Linked DNA regions of Homo sapiens: regions 1, 2, 4 and 5 are each linked to region 3. The links are contacts of gene promoters, found by promoter capture Hi-C in blood cells and fetal thymus (Javierre and others, 2016). All regions are on one chromosome and are shown on one strand. Each heading gives the region's core, a stretch centred on a gene start or on the middle of the fragment in contact. The rest is flanking DNA. Distances are from core to core; before and after follow the strand shown.

Region 1 (3,983 bases), core at 905-3,404, 220 kb before region 3:
GTCAATTATTAAGTGCACTTTTTTTATATTTTATTGAAATTGGGATGCATGTGACAATCACTGTTGTCCAGAGTGTCAGTTAGGATATTTGTCTTTGTCCACATATGGGTGCCAGTGGCTGGGAGTGAATCCTGAGGATGATGGCGGAGAGCACTTTCTAAAGAAATGCTACATCGCTCGCTGTCTTGATGGAATGAAGAGCAGTGGTGTGTAAAAACCTGCAGGGCAATGACTCTGAAATGAAAAGTGATTCAGAGGAGACAGTGAGTGAACATGAAAACATTTGGGAACATCTTAAGCAATTTACTTATATTGTCCTTTTTACATGCACGTAAGAGTGATATATTATTAAAATCAATGTCTAAAAGAAATGAAGTTCTTTCTATGAGTACAAAATCAAAATTTTAAGAAATATGAGAGAAGCAACATCACCAAAAATGGCAGAGTAAAGAATTCCAGTGCTCCATCACTCCACAAATACAGCTGGCAAAAGCTGTCCTAATCAACTTTTACAGAACTCTGAAATCTAGCCACAAACTTACAGCAACTGGGGAAAGTATAATGAAGAAAGAAGCTGCTGCAATGTACTAAGAAAGCACTTTGGTGTTTTAAACTGCCTGCTTGCCATCCCTCCTTCTCCAGATTGTTGGTGGCCATGAAGATGGCAGCATGAACTCCTGATGCAGGCTGCTAGTGCCAGAGTGAACAACACAGACTCTGTTCTCAAAGAAACGGGAGTGTGCTTGGACCGGGCTGACAGCTCCCTGATGGACTAGAGCAAGGATAGCGTTTGCATTTGGGCATTTGCCAAGAGCAGCAAGGGCAAAAGTACTGGCTGTAGGAGCCTGAGACAAGCAATAGAAAGACCAAAAAGTCTAGGAAGGAAGAGCTTGAGGAAGAACATAAGTGGGGAATAAGGGCCATTAAAAGCTCTTGCGTGTACCAGGGAATTACGTGCATGCCCAGCGTGGGCGGAGTGCTCAGAAAAGGCCTGAGAAGACCTCAAGCCTCCACTTCTGGCTGACCTTCAAGATGTGCACATTCAAGAAGAGAAAGCTAAGACAGAATTATAAACAACCTGGCTAAGTGTTAAAGGAGTATGCCAACACAGAGCCAGTCTCTAAAGACTGGAAGAGTTTCTGTAGGTACTTTTTTTTTCTCTCTCTCTTTCTTTTATGGGTTGGGGGCTTTGGGCATTTAAGGTTACTCTGTTAAAAATACTAGCTGACCACTAAGCTAATGGAACACAGACTTCAGTGGCCTCACACAACAAACACAATACAGATGTTACAAAAGTAGTTTTGAAAAGTCAGTAACAAGTAACAACAGCCCACAACAAATAGCAACAACAAACCCTTGGCAGGGGTGGAGGGTGGGGGCGGAATCTACTTTGCAGAGTTGCCACATTGTAATTATCAAAATGCTGAGTTTTTGACAAACATTTATGAAGCATGCAAAGAAACAAGAAAGTATAAACCATTCACAAGCATACTCTGAAGAAATTAATAGAAACTATCCCTGAGGAAGCCAGACACTGGACTTACTTAGTGGACAAAAACTAAATCACATGTCTTTAAAATGCTCAGAGTTAGGGTAAACCATGTACAAAGGACTAAAGGAAGCCAGGAGCATGAAGTATCACCGAATAGAGAATATCAGTTAAGAGAGAGAAATTACCAAAAAGAACCAATTAGAAATTCTGGAGCTGAAATGAAATGAAAAATCACTAGGAGGTTACAACAACAAACAGGTTTAAACAGGCACCAGAAATAATCATCAGACTGGATGCAGTGGCCCACACCTGTAATCCCAGCACTTTGGGAGGCCGAGGCAGGCAGATCATTTGAGGTCAGGAGATTGAGACCAGGCTGACCAACTTGGTGAAACCCTGTCTCTAATAAAAATCCAAAGAAAATTAGCTGGGGATGGTGGCGCATGCCTGTAATGTCAGCTACTTGGGAGGCCAAGGCAGGAGAATCTGTTGAACCTGGGAGGCAGAGGTTGCAGTGAGCCGAGGTCGTGCCACTGCACTGCAGCCTGGGCAACAGAGCAAGACTCCATCAAAAGAAAGAAAGAGAAAGAGAGAGAGGGAGGGAGGGAGGAAGGGAAAGAAAGAAAGAGAGAGAGAGAAAGAAGGAAAGAAAGAAAGAAAAGAAAGAGAAAAGAGAGAGACAAAGAAAAAGAGAGGGAGGGAGGGAAAGGAGGGAAAGGAAGGAAAGGAAAGAAAAAGGAAAGAAAGAGAAAGAATCAGCAAACTTGAATATAGGACAATTGAAATTATGCAGCCCGGGAAGCACAAAAGAAAAGAATGAAGAAAAGTGAACCAAGCCTAAGGGACCTGTGGGATATCATCAAGTAGATCAACATATGCATAATGAGAGTCCCAGAAAGAGGAGACAAAGAGAAAGTAGCAGAAAGACTACCTAAATAAATAATAGGCCGGGCACAGTGGATCATGCCTGTAATCCCAGCACTTTGGGAGGCCAAGGTGGACGGATCACCTGAGGTCAGGAATTCAAGACCATCTCTACTAAAAATACAAAAATTAGCCAGACATGGTGGTGGGCACCTGTAATCTCAGCTACTAGGGAGGCTGAGGCAGGAGAATCACTTGAACCTGGGAGGCGAAGGTTGCAGTGAGCTGAGATTGTGCCACTGCACTCCAGCCTGGGGGACAGTGAGACTCCATTTCAAAAAAAAAAAAAGAAAGAAAGAATAGCCAAAATGTCCCATATTTTGTGAAATACATGAATTCTACGCATCCAAGAAGTTCAACAACACCAAGTAGAACAAACTCAAAGAGATCCATACTAAGAAACACTATAGTCAAATTATTGAACACCAAACAAAAAGAGACAATCTGGAAAGCTGCAAGAGCCAAGTGACTCATCACATACAAGAGATCCTGAATAAAATTAATAATCAGTTTTTCATCAAAACCATGGTGGTCAGGAGACAGTGGGATAAAAGGAAAAAAGTCAACCAGAAATACTATATCCAGCAAAAATTGAGACATTAAGACATTTCCAGCTAAACAAAAACTGATGTATTTCACCAATAGACCTGCTCTAGAAATCCTAAAGGAAGTCTTCCAGGCTGAAACAAAAGGACATCAAACAGTAACTCAAACACATGCAAAAATAAAGAACAATGGTAAATGTAGCTACATAGGTAAATATAAAAACACCCTTTGGTTTATAAGTTCCTTTTTCATTTTACTAAATAGTTTAAAAGACAAACCCCTGAAACAATAATTGTAAAGCTATGTTAACAGGCACACAATATATAAAGATGCAGTTTGTGATACTACAACATAAAGTGTGGGAAGAGGGGCACAACAGAGCTGTAAAGGAACAGAGTCTTTGTATGCTATGAAACTCAGTTGGTATTTAATTAAAACTTGGTTATTATAAAGTTAATCGTTATTCCCCAGAGTAAACGCTAACACAAAACCTAAAAATACATACGGAAATGGAAATAAGGGAATCAAAGTGGTGTACTAGAAGATGTCTTCTGGTAGGTGAATGGATAAACTGTGGTACACCCAGCTTCTAGCCGTGAAAAGACACGGAGGAAACTTAAATTCATATTAGCGAAAGAAACACATCTGAAAAGGCTACCTACATGCTGTATGATTCCAACTCTGTGATATCCAAGAAAAGGGAAAACTATGGACACAGTGAAAATATCACTGGTTGCCAGAGGTTGAGAGGGAAGGAGGGAGGGATGAGTAGGTAGAGCATAGGGAATTTTTAGGGCGCTGAAACCAGTCTGTATGATACTATAATAGTAGATACATGTCATTATACATTTGTTTAAACTCACAGGATGTACAACACCAAGAGTGAACACTAATGTAAACTATGGATACTGGTTGATAACAGTGTGTTAATGTTGGTTCATGGATTGTAGAAAATGCACCACGCTGGCTCAGATTGTTGGTGGTGAAGGAGGGGGTGTGCATTGGGATGGGAGCAAGGAGA
Region 2 (4,054 bases), core at 874-3,373, 180 kb before region 3:
TAAACTCATGCTACGAAACTGTAGCACAAAAGACATTTCTCTTTAGTGTTTCAGGAAAATCAGCTCATGGAATGCTGCCAACCAAAGTATAGTAGATTCTTTAAACAATGTAATGCTTTCTATCTGCAGACTCCCACAGACCTCACATCCAGGGCTCCCATCCTTCCCAGGTTCTGCCAAGGATGTTGGGGTCTGTTGCCTGGTCCATCAGGCACTTCACTTGAGTCTCTTCTGAAAGCCCACTCTCTGGTTCTTGGGCACGAATGTTGTGATCTTTGCTTCCTCGTGCCACAGCCACATAGTCTCTGAAGGCAGGGGCCTTCTCATGACCCAGGAGTAGCTCATCACTGGAAAAAAAACAAACACAGAAAACACAAAGCATGTGTCATTGTCCTTTGTTGCCTGCATCCCTAGTGATCCTATCCAAACACATTCCCCACGTCATCACTCACAGAGTATTTTCTGTGGCTTATAACCTTGAAGTCAAAGACTGGATTTGTAGGAAAACAGAACATGAATTATGCTGCTCAAGTTTTTGTGTGAATGTATGCCTTCACTTCTCCTGAGTGAATTCCTAGGATTCACCTAGGAGTGGCATTGATGGGTCCAATGGTAACTCTATGTTTAACTTTGTGAAGAACTGCCACTTTCCCACAGCAGCTGCACCTTTTCCCACTCCCACCAGCAGAGTATGAGGAGTCCACCTTCTCTACATCCTCAACACTTGTTAGATTCCTTTTTTTTTAATTAAAAAAAGAGAAAGTTTTAAAAATTTTTGGTAGAGACAGGGTCTTGCTATGTTGCCCAGGCTAGACTTGAACTCCCGGGCTCTAGTTATCCTCCTGCCTTGGCCTCCCAAAGTGCTGGGATTACAGGTGTGAGCCACTGCATTAGCCCCATTTTAAAATTATAGTCATCTGGCAAGGCGTGGTGGCTCGCCTGAGGTCAGGAGTTCAAGACCAGCCTGGCCAACATGGCGAAACCCCATTTCTACTAAAAATACAAAAATTACCAGGCGTGGTAGCATGAACCTATAATTCCAGCTACTCAGGAGGCTCGGACAGGAGGATCGCTTGAACCCAGGAGGTGGGGGTTGCAGTGAGTCCATATCGTGCCATTGCACTCCAGCCTGGGTGACAGAGCAAGACTTTGTCTCAAAAATAAATAAATAAATAAATAAATAAATTAATTAATTAATAGCCATCCTAGCAGGTGTGAGGTAGTATCTCACTTGGATTTCCCTGATGACTAGTGACGTTGAGCATTTTTGCATGCCGCTTATTGGCCATTTGTATATTTTCATTAAAGAAATGTCAGTTCAAGTCTTTTGACCATTTTTTTTTTTTTTTTTTTTTTTTTGAGACAGGGTCTTGCTCTGTCACCCAGGCCGGAGTGCAATGGCGTGATCTCGGCTCACTGCAACCTCTGCCTCCTGGGTTCAAGTGATTCTCCTGCCTCAGCCTCCCTAGTAGCTGGGATTACAGGTGTGAGCCACTGCGCCCAGCCCTGACCATTTTTAATTGGGTTATCTATCTACCTATTATTAGGCAATAAGAGTTTTTTTAATGTATTCTAGATACAAGTCCCATATCAGATACATGACTTGCAAATATTTTATCCCATTTGGAAGGCTGAAACACCTTCTTGATAGCACTCTGTGAAGCACAAAATTGTTTAATTTTGATGAAGTCCAATGTATATATTTGTTTCTTGCTTGTGCTTTCAGTGTCATACCTAAAAAATGGCAAGTATCACAACAAAATCCAAGGTCAGGATGATTTACTCCTATTCCTTTTTTTTTTTTTTTTCTGAGGCAGAGTCTCACTTTGTCGCCTAGGCTGGAGTACAGTGGTGCCATCTTGGCTCACTGCAACCTCCGCCTCCCCAGGTTCAAGTCATTCTCCTCCCTCAGCCTCCCTAGCAGCTGGGATTACAGGTGCGCACCACCATGCCCAGCTAATTTTTGTATTTTTAGTAGAGATGGGGTTTCACCTTGATGGCCAGGGTGGTCTCGAACTCCTGACCTCAAGTGATCCACTAGCCTTGGCCTCCCAAAGTGTTGAGGCGTGAGCCACCACGCCCAGCTGATTTACTCCTATTTCTAAGTGTTTTATAGTTTTGACTCTTACACTTAGCTCTCTGATCCATTCTGAATTAATTTTTCCACATGGTGTGAAACAAGGACCTAACTTCATTCTTTTGCCAGCGCTATTTGTTGGAAAGGTCACTGAATGGTCTTGGCACCCTTGTCAAAAATAAGTTGACAATAGATTGCCACTATTACTTAATTCTAAAGTCCAACTTTTTTCATTCCTATGAATCATCTCCATAAATTTCTATTTGCTTTAGACCTCAACAAGAGAAAACTTTAAGGCTAACCTAAAAGCCAACCCAAATTGAATTCTCATCTAACAAGCCCACACAGTGCTTTTCATACCTAGGTACTATATTCATCAGGGTCAAACGCCCTAAAAAGGACAAAAGCAAATTTAAAACCTAAGTCTCCTCATGCATGTAACAATATTCTGGCAACTGTCTAAGAGTGCACCTTCTGTTTCTCCAATTGGCGCCACTGTTCCAGGGACTGAGTTTAAACCTGAAGACAGTGCAGGGGTCACATACGTCAGAGTTGCAGGCCTTGCCCTGGCTTTGGGGAAGTCAGCCTCTCTAAGCCCTGCTTTCCTCCTCAATGAAAGCAGAGAAGTCATGCTAACAGAGTGTCAAGAGCTCAGCACTTTGTATATATGTTGGCTCCTCGAGAAACAGTAGCATGTCGGTAGTCCGTTAGTTTTTTCCACATATAAAAATCTTACCAAGTAATGACTGCTGGATTGGCACCTGCTAACTTTCTCTTAGCGTAACATATTTTCTGTCGGGGGTACCAATTTTTTTCAGCAACATTTATTTCTTGAATCCATGACCCTCCTTTTTTCAGCATTTTCTGTTCAAAATTCTAGAAGAAAAGAACATGATTTTCCCGGCTGATCATAATGGTATATACAATCATGCCCAAACAGATTAAATCTAGTAATGATCTTAAAGTAAACAAACATCTATAACCAGGAGCAGCCTTGCTTTCTACAGCTACAAAGCTGTTCATACAGACTCCATGGCACACACATCACGAGACGAGGGGCCTCAGCAGTCCCCTTATTTCTCCAAATAAAGGTTTTGCCTGTTAATTTTTTTTTTTTTGAGGCGGAGTTTCACTCTTGTCACCCAGGCTGGAGTGCAGTGGCGTGATCTCGGCTCACTGCAACCTCTGCCTCCTGGTTTCAAGCCATTCTCCTGCCTCAGCCTCCCAAGGAGCTGGGATTACAGGTGTGCGTTACCACGCCCAGCTAATTTCTGTATTTTTAGTAGAGACAGGGTTTTACCATGTTGGCCAGGCTGGTCTCCAACTCCTGACCTCAGGTGATCCTCCCGTCTCTGCCTCCCAAAGTTTTGGGATTATAGGTGTGAGCCACTGGGCCCAGCCTCTTAACTGGTTTTCAAGCAGACAATCCTAAATACTAACTTTGAGAAATGCTGTACAAAATAATGTAAATATTTTCATCAACATGACTCAATGCACTTCCATCATACACGAGAGATACCAGCTTGATCACGGGGACACTGTCACAAAAGTGAAAAGTGCACATGAAACAAAACCTACTTTCCAATCAAAGGAGGGCTCCTTGACAAACACATCCATGGTGTTGGTGAGCAGGCCAGGGTCTGAGCGGAAGGCCCGGAGTGCGTGTACCATGATGCTGTACATAAGGCCCGTTTCTTTCATTGGTAACATCAGATTGATAAACTGGCGAGTTAGCCGAAAAGGCATCAACTCAGGGACTGGCAGAAACTAAACAAGAAAAAAGGCAAGGAGCAGAATATGTAAGCCAGAACTCTCAAAGTACCGAGCACAAATGGCAGCATCCTCACATAGTTACTGTTCACATTTAGTAAAAATACAGACTCTGCTTCCCTTGAAATCAGCTACACAGATGTGAGTTCCTATGCTCGAGAGTAACCCCCTCGGCTTGAGTTATCCCTCAATGCAAAACCCACGTGC
Region 3 (4,061 bases), core at 777-3,276:
TTAAAGTAAGGAGATGAAGAAGAGTGGGTCAGAGAGACAGGAAGTTGGGAAAGCGGGAGATTCCAAACCTCTAGTTAGGGGGACTTGACATGCTGTTGCTGGCCTTGAAGACCAAGGGAAGGGAGCTGTGATCCAAGGAAAGGGGACAGCTTCAAGAAGTATGGAATGTCAGGGACCTCAATCCTATATAACCTGAATGAATAAGGCAATGGATCCTCCCCAAGAGCCTTCAGAAAGAAAGCAGCCCTGTCTGGTACTTTGGTTCTAGCTTGGTGAGACCTGTGTGGGATTCTGACTCACAGAATCCCCCTTACAGTGGGAACTGTAAGAGTAACAGACCTGTGCTGTTTTAAACCACTAAGCTTGTGGTAATTGTTACAGCAGCAATAAGGAACTAATACACTTCCCCTGGAATCTCTCAAGTGAAAGGAGATATGGCATAAATGGAAGGTAAACTTGGAAGTGCTTTAGAAACAAGTTACTAAACGAACAAAAATGAATTCTAAATTTGAAACCCTGAGAAGAGAAAGTAATCACGCAATGTTAGTTTTTTGTTTGATATTTCCCCATTGTTAATATATTCTTGACAACAGATAGAGTACATATAGGATACATGTATATAGCATCTTTTTTTTTTTTTTTTTGGGACGGAGTCGTGCTCTGTTGCCCAGGCTGGAGTGCAGTGGCACAATCTCGGCTCACTGCAATCTCCTTCTCCTGGGTTCAAGACATTCTCCTGTCTCAGCCTCCCGAATAGCTGGGACTACAGGCGCTCGCCACCATGCCCAGTTAATTTTTGTATTTTTAGTAGAGACAAGGTTTCACCATACTGGTCAGGTTGGTCTCCATCTCCTGACCTCAGGTGATCCAGCTGCCACAGCCTCCCAAAGTGCTGGGATTACAGGCATGAGCCACCGCACCGTGCCACATATAGCATCTAGTTTAAACTGTTTAAGTTATTCCTACACCATATTCACTACTAGACCCTCCGGAAGAAAATCTCACCTTTTAATAGGGCACAACATCAAGGTCTGCATACTCGTGTTTTAAAGAAGGAATACAGGAGATCCACATAATTAAGTATTTGAATATTTAAAATGCTAAAAAGAGGCACTTTTACTACAAAGGGGAAAAAGTTCCCACCCAGGCATTGCTAAAGAGTTAAAAGAACATGACTTCAATTACATTTCTTCAATTTTTCTCAAAGTAGGAACGGCAAATAGAGGGGTTTGGAAAAGGTACTGGTGGGATTAGGCGAGATTCAGGTGAAAGAAAATACTTTCTCTTGGCCGGGCCCGGTGGCTCACGTCTGTAATCCCAGCACTTTGGGAGGCCGAGGCGGGGGGATCACGAGGTCAGGAGTTCGAGACCAGCCTGACCAACATGGTGAAACCCCATCTCTACTAAAAATACAAAAAAATTAGCCGGGCGTGGTGGCGCGCGCCTGTAATCCCAGCTACTCGGGGGGCTGAGGCAGGAGAATAGCTTGAACCCGGGAGGCGGAGGTTGCAGTGAGCCGAGATCGCGCCACTTCACTCCAGCCTGGGCGACAGAGCGAGACTCCGTCTCAAAAAAAAAAAAAATTATTTCTCTTGCCCTGCCCCCCACTCTGCATAGCAATGATTGCCATATTAGGGGTCGTTTTCACCAACTTTGGCTTTAAAATATCTTTCCTCTAATACTAGGGGGTAAAAAGCAGTATGACAAATCCCTTTATACACATACACAGAAATTCCCCCAAGAATCTAATTGCTGTACTTCAAAATACCGTCATCTAAACACAGAGAAGCGCCGGGCTGCCCGGCTCCAGAACGACTCGGGAAGCCAGGACCCACCCGCGGCCCAGCTCGGGCCGGTACCCACCCAGCACCGCGGGGCTGCTGCTCAGGACGCATTCCTGCCCCAGGCCGCGGATCAGTTGATGACCGGCCAGGGCAGCACCGCAGCGGTCCGCAGCGGACAAGGTCTCCTGCAGCCGCAGCAGGGAGCAACGCACACCGGCTCCGGAGCCCGCCATGCCGCCGAGTCCCGCTCCCGCGCGTGCGCCCGCTCGGCCCGGACCCGGAAATGCCCCTACGCGCGGAGGCGGGGCTGCGGGGCGCGGCGGCAGGAACTTTCCCGGGGACCCCTGCGGGAAGGCCTGGCCAGTAAGCGCGCCTCTTTGGCCCGAATCAACATGGAAACCTAAGGAAAAACGTCTGACCTGCGGAGGTAGTTTGGGTGGCTACTTGGTGTTGGACTTGGCTAAATAAATACCAGAGGCAGATAAAACAAGCGAGGGGCCTAGGTCAAGAGTTCCAAGTTTGTTCCTCGATAAAAAACGACAAACGCGGTCGGGGGCGGTGATGCCCGCCTGCAGTCCCAACACTTTAGGAAGCTGAGGCGGGGGGATCGCAGGAGTTCGAGACCAGTCTGGGCAACATAATGAGACCATCCCCACCACCTCCCGTCCTTAATTTTTTTTAATAAAAAAAATCTTTAAGTGAGAAATGCATCTGTAATGTCCTTATTAACCAAAAACGCCTAAGGGATAAAGAAGCACACGCTCCCTAGCCAACGCTAGAGGAACACACCCCGAGAGCTGGTGCTGTAGGACCCAGTTTTCCCGCGAAAACGCTGCCGCGCAGGGGGTCAGACCATCTGGACCAAGGGGGGCCGAGCGAGGCCTACTTCTGGTTTACGCACGGGCGCTGAAAGAAGCGGCACTGTCCCCCCCTGCCGATGCGCAGTGGCGCCTCCCGGAGGCGGAGCCACGTACGAGCGCCGCTGTGATTGGTGAGGCCCCGCCAGGGGCGGAGACGACCTTGCCGCCGGCGGGAACTCTGGGTCTCGCGGTTTGGGAGCGCTACTCGCCAGGTGGACTCGGAGTCCGCGAGCGTCGTCGGCAAGCGGCCGCCTTTCCACGGTAACCGCGCGCCGGCGGGGAGGGCGTGGCGCGGAGCCGACGGGAACGTCCGCGCTGCGGAGCAGGGCAGGGAAGCCGGGAGGCGGGCCCGGCCCGAGCTTGTCCTTGTCGCGCAGGTACTCCGAGCACTATGTCGTCCCCGGCGTCGACCCCGAGCCGCCGCGGCAGCCGGCGTGGAAGGGCCACCCCCGCCCAGACGCGTGAGTCCCCCGAGCCGGGCCCACTACAGCCCCCGGCGCCGCCCCGTCTGCCCTCTCGCCGCAGCTGGCAGCGCTGGGTGGGTGCGCGGGACCCGGGCGCTCAGCCTCGGGCTGGGCGCTGCCGCTTGGTGCGCACAGACACCCACAGCAGGCTGTGGCCTGGGTGCTGCTTAATTCGATTGCCATTTGCCTCTGTTTGGTTTGGTTCAGTGGTGAGTCATAATGCCCCAAGGAAAAGACAAATCCAGGAAGGCCGGCCCTGAAAGTTAATGGCTGTCTTTTCTGTTTTGTGTGACACAAGCTCGGAGTGAGGATGCCAGGTCATCTCCCTCTCAGAGACGTAGAGGCGAGGATTCCACCTCCACGGGGGAGTTGCAGCCGATGCCAACCTCGCCTGGAGTGGACCTGCAGAGCCCTGCTGCGCAGGACGTGCTGTTTTCCAGCCCTCCCCAAATGCATTCTTCAGGTGCGTGTCTGAAGATCTTGGTTTTGCTGTGCTTGATACACAGCTGATGCTTTATCTGCTCAGGTTTACTGGCTTTATAACAGTTGGCATAACGCCTAAAGCATCCCCTCTGCACGTGACTGAGCATGTTCTTAACCAGAGGAGCTGAACGGAGTGCAGAAAATAGTAGTTTTAGGGCTTAGTGAGCAGAGGAAGCAGCTTCTCTGGTGCTTTTTTTTAATAGAACATTTAAGAGTGCTCAGAATCTCAGCCACCGCAGGTTGCAATAAATATTCAGTTTGCTGTTGCGATTAGATGGTATAGATCAACAGACAACATGCTGTAATTTCAGGTTTGATATGCCACCAGAATTTCCTAATTTTGTTTTTATAGCTATCCCTCTTGACTTTGATGTTAGTTCACCACTGACATACGGCACTCCCAGCTCTCGGGTAGAGGGAACCCCAAGAAGTGGTGTTAGGGGCACACCTGTGAGACAGAGGCCTGACCT
Region 4 (3,788 bases), core at 1,105-3,604, 150 kb before region 3:
AGAGGGTGTTTTCTGACCACAGTGGAATTTAGAAATCACTAAGATAGCCAGAAAACCCAGGTATTTGGAAATTAAAACACTTAAATATTTAATGGATCAAGTCACATGAGAGTTAGAAAAATACGTTGAACTGAATGACATACCAAAATGTGCAGAATGCAGCTAAAGCAGTACTTTACAGGGACACAAATAACTTTAAATGCTTATATTAGGAGGAAGAAAAGGTATAAAATCAACAGTTTCCACCTAAAGAAACTAGAAAAAGAAAAGCAAATATAAGGTAAGAGGAAAAGAAAAAAATAGTAAAGACGATACTAGAAATCAATTAAATAGAAAACAGACAAATAATAAAGAAAATTAACAAAGTAAAAAACTGATCCTTTGAAAAAGCAAAACTGACACAAACCTTTACCCAGATGAATCAAGTGTTAAAAAAGAGAACACAAATAACCAATATCTGGAATGAAAAAGGGGGTTCCCTCCACAGACACTACAAATAATAAAAAGGATGAGAATAATGTGAACATTATACCAATAATTTGATGACTTTGATGAAATGGACAAATTTACTTTAAAAAACAAATAAAGAAGGCAGAAATTTAAAAAGAAAATGGACAAAGTGATTGAAAAATACAATTTAACAAAAATGACACAAAAATAGAATTTTATATTTATTTATTTATTTATTTATTTATTTATTTATTTATTTTGAGACAGAATCTTGCTCTGTCTCCCAGGCTGGAATGCAATGGCACGATCTCTGCTCACTGCAACCTCCACCTCCTGGGTTCAAGTGATTCTCCTACCTCAGCCTCCTGAGTAGCTGGGACTACAGGTGCCCACCACCACATTCAGCTAATTTTTGTATTTTTAGTAGAGGCAGGGCTTCACCATATTGGCCAGGCTGGTCTCCAACTCCTGACCTCAAATGATCCACCCACCTCGGCCTCCTAAAGTGCTGGGATTACAGGTGTAAGCCACCATGCCCAGCCAGAAATAGAAAGTTTAAATTCTCTATCAGTATTGACTAAGGAAATTATATACATTATCAAAAATCTTCCCCAAGGGAAAACCCATGCCCAAATAGGATAGGTTTCACTGGTAAATCCTATCAAATATTCAAGTATGAAATAATGAGGATCTTATATAATTTTTTTTTTTCCTTTGGAGACGGAGTTTTGCTCTTGTTGCCCAGGCTGGAGTGCAATGGTACGATCTTGCCTCACCGCAACCTCTGCCTCCCGGGTTCAAGCGATTCTCCTGCCTCAGCCTCCGAGTAGCTAGGATTACAGGCATGTGCCACCATGCTCGGCTAATTTTATATTTTTAGTAGAGACAGGTTTTGTCCATGTTTGTCAGGCTGGTCTTGAACTCCTGACCTCAGGTGATCCGCCCACCTTGGCCTCCCAAAGTGCTGGAATTAGAGGCATAAGCCACCACGCCTGGCCATAAACTTTTTTTAAAATAGAGAAGGGAACATGCCTTACTCATCTTATGAGGCCATGATAACCCTAATACCAAAACCTGATGAAGATATTACAAAAAAGAAAATTACACACCAATATCCCACTTGGATGTAGATGCTAAAATCCTTAAGGGATCATCATGACCGTATTGGGTTTACCCTAAGAATGCAAGATTGGCTTCATATTTAAAAAGCATCAAAGCTAATACTTCATAAACACAATAAAGGAGAAAAACAATATGATTAAGCTGTTGCAGAAAAAGTGTTTGATAAAATTCGACATTCATTCATGATAAAACAAAACTCTCAGAAAACCTGGAATAGAAGGGAATTTCCTCAATCTGATAAAAGGCATTTACAAAAAAATTATTTTTTAAAGCTGAGTGAGTGAACTATCTTCTCTAACATCAGGAATAAAACTAAGATGCTCATTTTAGCACGTATATTCAAGATTGTACTTGAGGTCCTCATGGTTTTAACAAAGCAGGAAAATGAAATAAATGGCATAAAGTTCAGAAAGAAAGAAAGGTGGCTCTATCGGCAGATGATATGATAGAAAATCCCAGAGAACCTGCAAAACAAGAACTAAAACTACCATGTTAGCAAAGATACAAAGTTAATATATAAAAAGCAATTACATTAGCAGCAAATAATTGGAAAATAATACAATTTTAAAAATAAATCCATCTATAACAGTGCCAAAAAACATAAAATACTTAGGAATAAATCACAAAAGACATCCAAGATCTCCATACTGAAAAAATACAAATCACTGAAATTAAAGATATCTAAATTAACAGAGATATGCCATATTAATGAACTCGATAACTCTATATTGTTAAGATAGCAACTCCCCAAATTAAACTATAGTCAATACAGTCCCAATCAAAATCTCAGCAGTTTTTCTTTATACAAATTGACAAGCAGATTCTAAAATGTAAATAGAAATGCAGATCAACTAAAATAAAGTAGTTTTCATAAAGAAAGTTGAGCCAGGTGCCATGGTTCATGCCTGTAATCCCAGCACACTGGGAGGCTGAGGTGGGCGTGTTGCTTGAGCCCAGGAGTTACATACCATCCTGGGCAACATAGTGAAACCCTGTCTCCACAAAAAAAGACAAAAAAATTAGCCAGGCATGGTGGCGCACGCCTGTGGTCCCAGCTACTTGAGAGGCTGAAGTGGGAGGACTGCTTAAACCTGGGAGGCTGAGACTGCAATGAGCCATTATCGGGTGACAGAGTAAGACCCTGTCTCAAAAAAAAGAAAAGTTCGAGAACTCATCCTGTCTGACTTCAAAACGTACTATAAAGTGATATAAATGAAGGCAGTTTGCTATTGTGAAAAAAACACAAAGCAAGGGCTACAATAGAGCATCCAGAAATAGACCCACACATATGTGGTCAATTGAGTTTCAAAAAAATTGCCAAGGTGACTCAATTATGAAAGACTTTTGAACAAATGCGGCTAGATAGATATCTATATGGAAAAAGTAAACACCTACCCCTACCTCACGCCATTTACAAAAATTTTCTTCCAGTGCATCAGAGACCTCAATGTAAGACCTAAAACCATAACATTTCTAAAAGAAAACAGTAGAAGACAGGTAAGATGAGCCTGATTTGTTAGCTTAAAGGGGAGCCTGTTGGCCAAATCTGAGATAATTGAACACAAAATAAATAAGGACAGTATAGGTTATATCCCACTAAATAAAATTTGAATCCCTGAGTCTTTATTGATAATCTTTAAAAAGTAAATAAGTAAGTAAACAGAAGGAAGGGTGCCTGCTTACAATAAGATGTAGACTAATATAAATGAATGGTAGAGTTGGAAATTATAATTTTGCAACCATTATTGTCAACACTGGTTTGGGCCAGGAGTCATCCACAAATGTGAAATACAGAGGGATAAGTCTTAGGAGAAGCAGGACATTTGTATGTCTCAAAGCAGCTCCTACATTTATTTGTTAGTTGCAAAAGAAAAGCAAAAAAATGGCATTATACAGTGGAGAGACCAAACAATCAAAATTATTATCACCAGGCTGGGCATGGTAAGTAATGCCTGTAATCCCATTACTTTGGGAGGCCAAGGCTCACTTGAGGATCACTTGAGGTCAGGAGTTCAAGACCAGCTTGGCCAACATGGTGAAACCCCATCTCTACTAAAAATACAAAATTTAGCCGGGCATGGTAGTGCGTGCCTGTAATCCCAGCTACTTGGGGGGTTGAGGCAGGAGAATCGCTTGAACCTGGGAGGCGGAGGTTGCAGTGAGCTGAGATTGTGCCACCGCACTCCAGCCTGGGCAAAAAGACTGCATCAAAAAAA
Region 5 (4,016 bases), core at 439-2,938, 170 kb before region 3:
CTGCCACCATGCCCGGCTAATTTTTTGTATTTTTAGTAGAGATGGGGTTTCACCGCATTAGCCAGGATGGTCTCGATCTCCTGACCTCCTGATCCGCCCACTTCAGCCTCCCAAAGTGCTGGGATTACAGGCGTGAGCCACCGCACCCGGCCTGACTACAGTAAATTTTTATTGTACATTTAAAAATAACTAAAAGAGTATAACTGGAATGTTTATAACACAAAGAAATGATAAATCCTTGAAGTGATGGATACTCCACTTACCCTGATGTGATTGTTACACACTGTATGCCTGTATCAAAATATCCCATGTACCCCATAAACATAGACACCTACTATGTACCCATAAAAATTAAAAATTAAAATAAAAAAAGAGCTGCTCTTAGATAAAAGCAAATCTTGCAACTGATGTTGACGTTTTGACGTATATAACGCGATATATAGTTTCTGAAGTTACATTATGAAAGAAAAGGTCACTTTTTAAAAAACAGGTTCTCACTATGATGTCCAGGTTGGACTGCAGTGGCAACTCACAAGTTCAGTCATAGCTCACTGCAGCCTTGAATTCCTGTACTCAAGCAATTCTCCCACCTCAGCCTCCTAAGTAGTTGGAAGTACAGTCACGCACCACCATGCTTAGCTTATTTTTATTTTACTATTTTAGAGATGAGATCTCACTATGTTGCCAAGGCTGGTCATGAACTCTTGGCCTCAAGCGATTCTTCCACCTCGGCCTCCCAAGTAGTTGGTATTATAGGCACAGACCATCATGCCCAGCAAGGTCACTTTCTTGACACACTGTCTCTCACATCTTTTTCTCTTCTTTCATTTTTCAAGACAATAGCTGTCTGTTCAGAGAAACAGTATGGTGGGCAGGGCCTCAGTAGGGCAGGGGTGTGTTCACAGATAAGCCACCCATTAACTGCAACAGAAGCTGGGCCTCAGCTGGGCATGGTGGCTCACGCCTGTAATCCTAGCACTTTGGGAGGCCAAGGTGGGCGGATCACCTGAGGTCACCTGAGGTCAGGAGTTCGAGACCAGCCTGGCCAAGGTGGCAAAACCCTGTCGCTACTAAAAATACAAAAATTAGCTGGGCATGGTGGCACACGCTTGTAATCCCAGCTACTCAGGAGGCTGAGGCAGGGAGAACTGCTTAAACCTGGGAGGTGGAGGTTGCAGCCGAGATTGCACTGCACTAGGTGACAGCACAATACTCTGTCTCAAAAAAAAAATAAAAAATAAAGAAATAAAAATAAAAATAAATTAATTTAAAAAAACTAAAAAAAAAAAAAAAAAAAAAGATGCCAGCGCTTTTCTTCATCTTGTTGAAATCAATACATTCAAAATAATGAGGCAGATCTGCTCATAATTAAAAACAAACAAAAAACCCCAAAACCTCATGATGGAGAATGTCACTACAACACTACACAGTTTGTGTACAAAGCATCCTTGAAATAGTTGCGCACTACTGCTCACTCATCATCGGTCTCAACTCATAAATCCGTTTAAGAGTGGACAGGATGACACTTGAGGCCATCTACTGAGTCCTAATTAAAAGGAAGAGTCGTTCTGTGTATTTTAAATTACAGGACAATTTCAGGAGCTGATTTCAAAAATCATCTCATCTAGTCTATCCCAAGCAATCATGACCATATGAGCAGAATGTTTTGTTAGCAGTGTAAGATGAAAGTATTTAAAGGAGATACATCCTATAACAAGTAACATACCCAGAATAGATATATTCAACAAAGCGACGGCTAAGATTATTCTTCAATGACAACTCTAATTAATTTGAAAACAAATGTAGTGTCCACGTGTGTGCTTTAACCACATTTTTATAACCTATAGTATTTGATCAACCTATTCCTTCTGTAATATTACCTACCTTGCCACAAACTCCTTATTCTTATGACCAGTAGAAGTATCCTTGAAGGAATAGCTTTCGCTGCTTATGATGAAGGGATAAACAATAGCCTGCGGGTAGTTATCAGTGATTTCTTCCACAGAGTGCTGAACAGCAACGGCTTGGTCTTTGTCCAGTAAGGCCACCATGTGGCTGATCCAGCTGATGAACTGCCAGCAGGGAACGGAAGAGATCTAAAACAGAGAGCTGAAACTTAATGCTGAGTAAAACATCTCACATCATCTGTTATAAAAGTAACATATGTCCAAAATAAAGAAAACTCAGAAGTATAAAAACGCAAGTACAAAACAAGTCTTCCATCCCCTAGCTCTCTTCTGCTGCGGCAACCACTGGACTCTCCCAGGCACTTTCTGTGCAGGAGAACAGTCTTTTGTTGCAAGAATGGAATCACACGAGACAGCTGCTGCTGGTTGTTCTTAGACAGATGTATAGAAAAATCTTCTACTTCATTCCTCCTGGCGGCTATGTAGTATTCCATGTTGTTTACTGCTCTATAATGAATATTTCAATTTTTTATCACAGGTAATGCTGCAGTAGACATCCCTGTACACATAACTTTATTTATTTATTTATTTTTTTGAGATGGGGTCTCGCTCTGTCGCCAGGCTGGAGTGCAGTGGCATGATCTTGGCTCACTGCAACCTCCGCCTCCTGGGTTTAAGCAATCTTCCTGCCTCAGACTTCTGAGTAGCTGGGACTACAGGTGCGCCACCATGCCCAGCTAATTTTCGTATTTTTAGTAGAGATGGGGGTTTCACCATGTTGGCCAGGATGGTCTCAATCTCTTGACCTCGTGACCTGCCCACATCGGCCTCCCAAAGTGCTGGGACTATAGGCGTGAGCCACCGTGCCTGGCCAACTCTTTTTTTTTTTTTTTTCTTGAGACAGAGTCTCATTGTCACCCAGGCTGGAGTGCAGTGGTGTGATCTCGGCTCACTGCAAGCTCCGCCTCCCAGGTTTACGCCATTCTCCTACTTCAGCCTCCCGAGTAGCTGGGACTACAGGCGCCTGCCACCACGCCTGGCTAATTTTTTGTATTTTTAGTAGAGATGGGGTTTCACCATGTAAGCCAGGATGGTCTCAATCTCGTGACCTCGTGATCGGCCCACCTCGACCTCCCAAAGGGCTGGGATTACAGGCGTGAGCCACCGCACCCGGCCTTTTTTTTTTTTTTTTTCTTTTGAGATGGAGTCTCACTGTATCGCTCAGGCTGGAGTGCTGTGGCGTGATCTCAGCTCACTGCAACCTTTGCTTTCTGGGTTTTAGCAATTCTTTCTACCTCAGCCTTCCGAGTAGCTGGGATTACAAACACTCGTCACCATACCCAGCTAATTTTTGTACTTTTAGTAGAGACAAGTTTCGCCACGTTGGCCAGACTGGTCTTGAACTCCTGACCTCAGGTGATCCACCCGCTTCGGCCTCCCAAAGTGCTGGGATTACAGGCATGAGCCACCGCGCCTGGTCCCCTGTACACGTAACTCTTTGTGCTATATACCTGTAGGATAAATTCCTAGAACTAAAATTACAGTGTCAACTTTAAAAATTGTAATAAACATTGGTATGGAATTTTTTTTTTTTTTTATGAGACAAGAGTCTCACTGTGTCGCCCAGGCTGGAGTGCAGTGGCGCCATCTCGGCTCACTGCAACCTCCGCCTCCTGGGTTCAAGTGATTCTCCTGCCTCAGCCTCCCGAGTAGCTGGGACTACAGGCATGTGCCATCATGCCCAGCTAATTTTTGTATTTTTAGTAGAGACAGGGTTCCACTGTGTTAGCCAGGATGGTCTCAATCTCCTGACCTCATGATCCGCCCACCTCGGCCTCCCAAAGTGCTGGGATTACAGGCATGAGCCACGGTAAAGAATTTTTCAAATTTTCATTTCTGAAAGTATTAGACTGACTACTTTCTAAAGTCTTTACCAACACTGCACATAATCATCTTTTAAAATCACTGTCGAGCCGAGATCACGCCACTGCACTCCAGCCTGGGTGACAGCGAGACTCCGTCACCAAAAAAATAAAAAATAAATAAATAAATAAAAATAAAATCACTGTCAATCTGAGAAGTGAAAAACACCTAATTTAAATTTTCAAC

The links. Contacts are between HindIII fragments. The CHiCAGO score rates a contact against its expected background, and 5 or more counts as called.
Region 1: a contact is called between a fragment that was not itself captured here and the fragment with the promoter of PRKDC in region 3, in 1 of 17 cell types (neutrophils). The highest score is 9.5, in neutrophils.
Region 2: a contact is called between a fragment that was not itself captured here and the fragment with the promoter of PRKDC in region 3, in 7 of 17 cell types (activated CD4 T cells, neutrophils, erythroblasts and 4 more). The highest score is 8.9, in activated CD4 T cells.
Region 4: a contact is called between a fragment that was not itself captured here and the fragment with the promoter of PRKDC in region 3, in 3 of 17 cell types (erythroblasts, activated CD4 T cells and neutrophils). The highest score is 6.1, in erythroblasts.
Region 5: a contact is called between a fragment that was not itself captured here and the fragment with the promoter of PRKDC in region 3, in 1 of 17 cell types (neutrophils). The highest score is 5.2, in neutrophils.

The regions. Positions count from the first base shown.
Region 1 is chr8:47,742,815-47,746,797 of GRCh38, forward strand. No RefSeq gene overlaps it. Among named protein-coding and RNA genes, the nearest start is that of CEBPD, 6.6 kb to the left of the region's middle. The HindIII fragment of the contact is 5,781 bases long and covers 1-3,983 here.
Region 2 is chr8:47,774,031-47,778,084 of GRCh38, forward strand. It overlaps PRKDC (protein kinase, DNA-activated, catalytic subunit), which reads right to left. Exons shown (of 86, transcript NM_006904.7): 84 at 3,656-3,844; 85 at 2,814-2,953; 86 at 1-347. The coding sequence ends at 143. Among named protein-coding and RNA genes, the nearest start is that of CEBPD, 38 kb to the left of the region's middle. The HindIII fragment of the contact is 8,625 bases long and covers 1-4,054 here.
Region 3 is chr8:47,958,110-47,962,170 of GRCh38, forward strand. PRKDC (protein kinase, DNA-activated, catalytic subunit) reads right to left here and starts at 2,027. Exons shown (of 86, transcript NM_006904.7): 1 at 1,864-2,027. The coding sequence starts at 2,017. It overlaps MCM4 (minichromosome maintenance complex component 4), which reads left to right and starts at 2,832. Exons shown (of 17, transcript NM_182746.3): 1 at 2,832-2,905; 2 at 3,022-3,105; 3 at 3,407-3,571; 4 at 3,944-4,061. The coding sequence starts at 3,036. RefSeq lists an enhancer at 1,496-1,655 and silencers at 1,836-1,885, 1,896-2,195, 2,866-3,265. The HindIII fragment of the contact is 8,899 bases long and covers 361-4,061 here.
Region 4 is chr8:47,812,426-47,816,213 of GRCh38, forward strand. All of the region lies in intron 68 of PRKDC (protein kinase, DNA-activated, catalytic subunit), which reads right to left. Among named protein-coding and RNA genes, the nearest start is that of CEBPD, 76 kb to the left of the region's middle. The HindIII fragment of the contact is 8,762 bases long and covers 1-3,788 here.
Region 5 is chr8:47,792,406-47,796,421 of GRCh38, forward strand. It overlaps PRKDC (protein kinase, DNA-activated, catalytic subunit), which reads right to left. Exons shown (of 86, transcript NM_006904.7): 74 at 1,885-2,096. Among named protein-coding and RNA genes, the nearest start is that of CEBPD, 56 kb to the left of the region's middle. The HindIII fragment of the contact is 6,008 bases long and covers 1-4,016 here.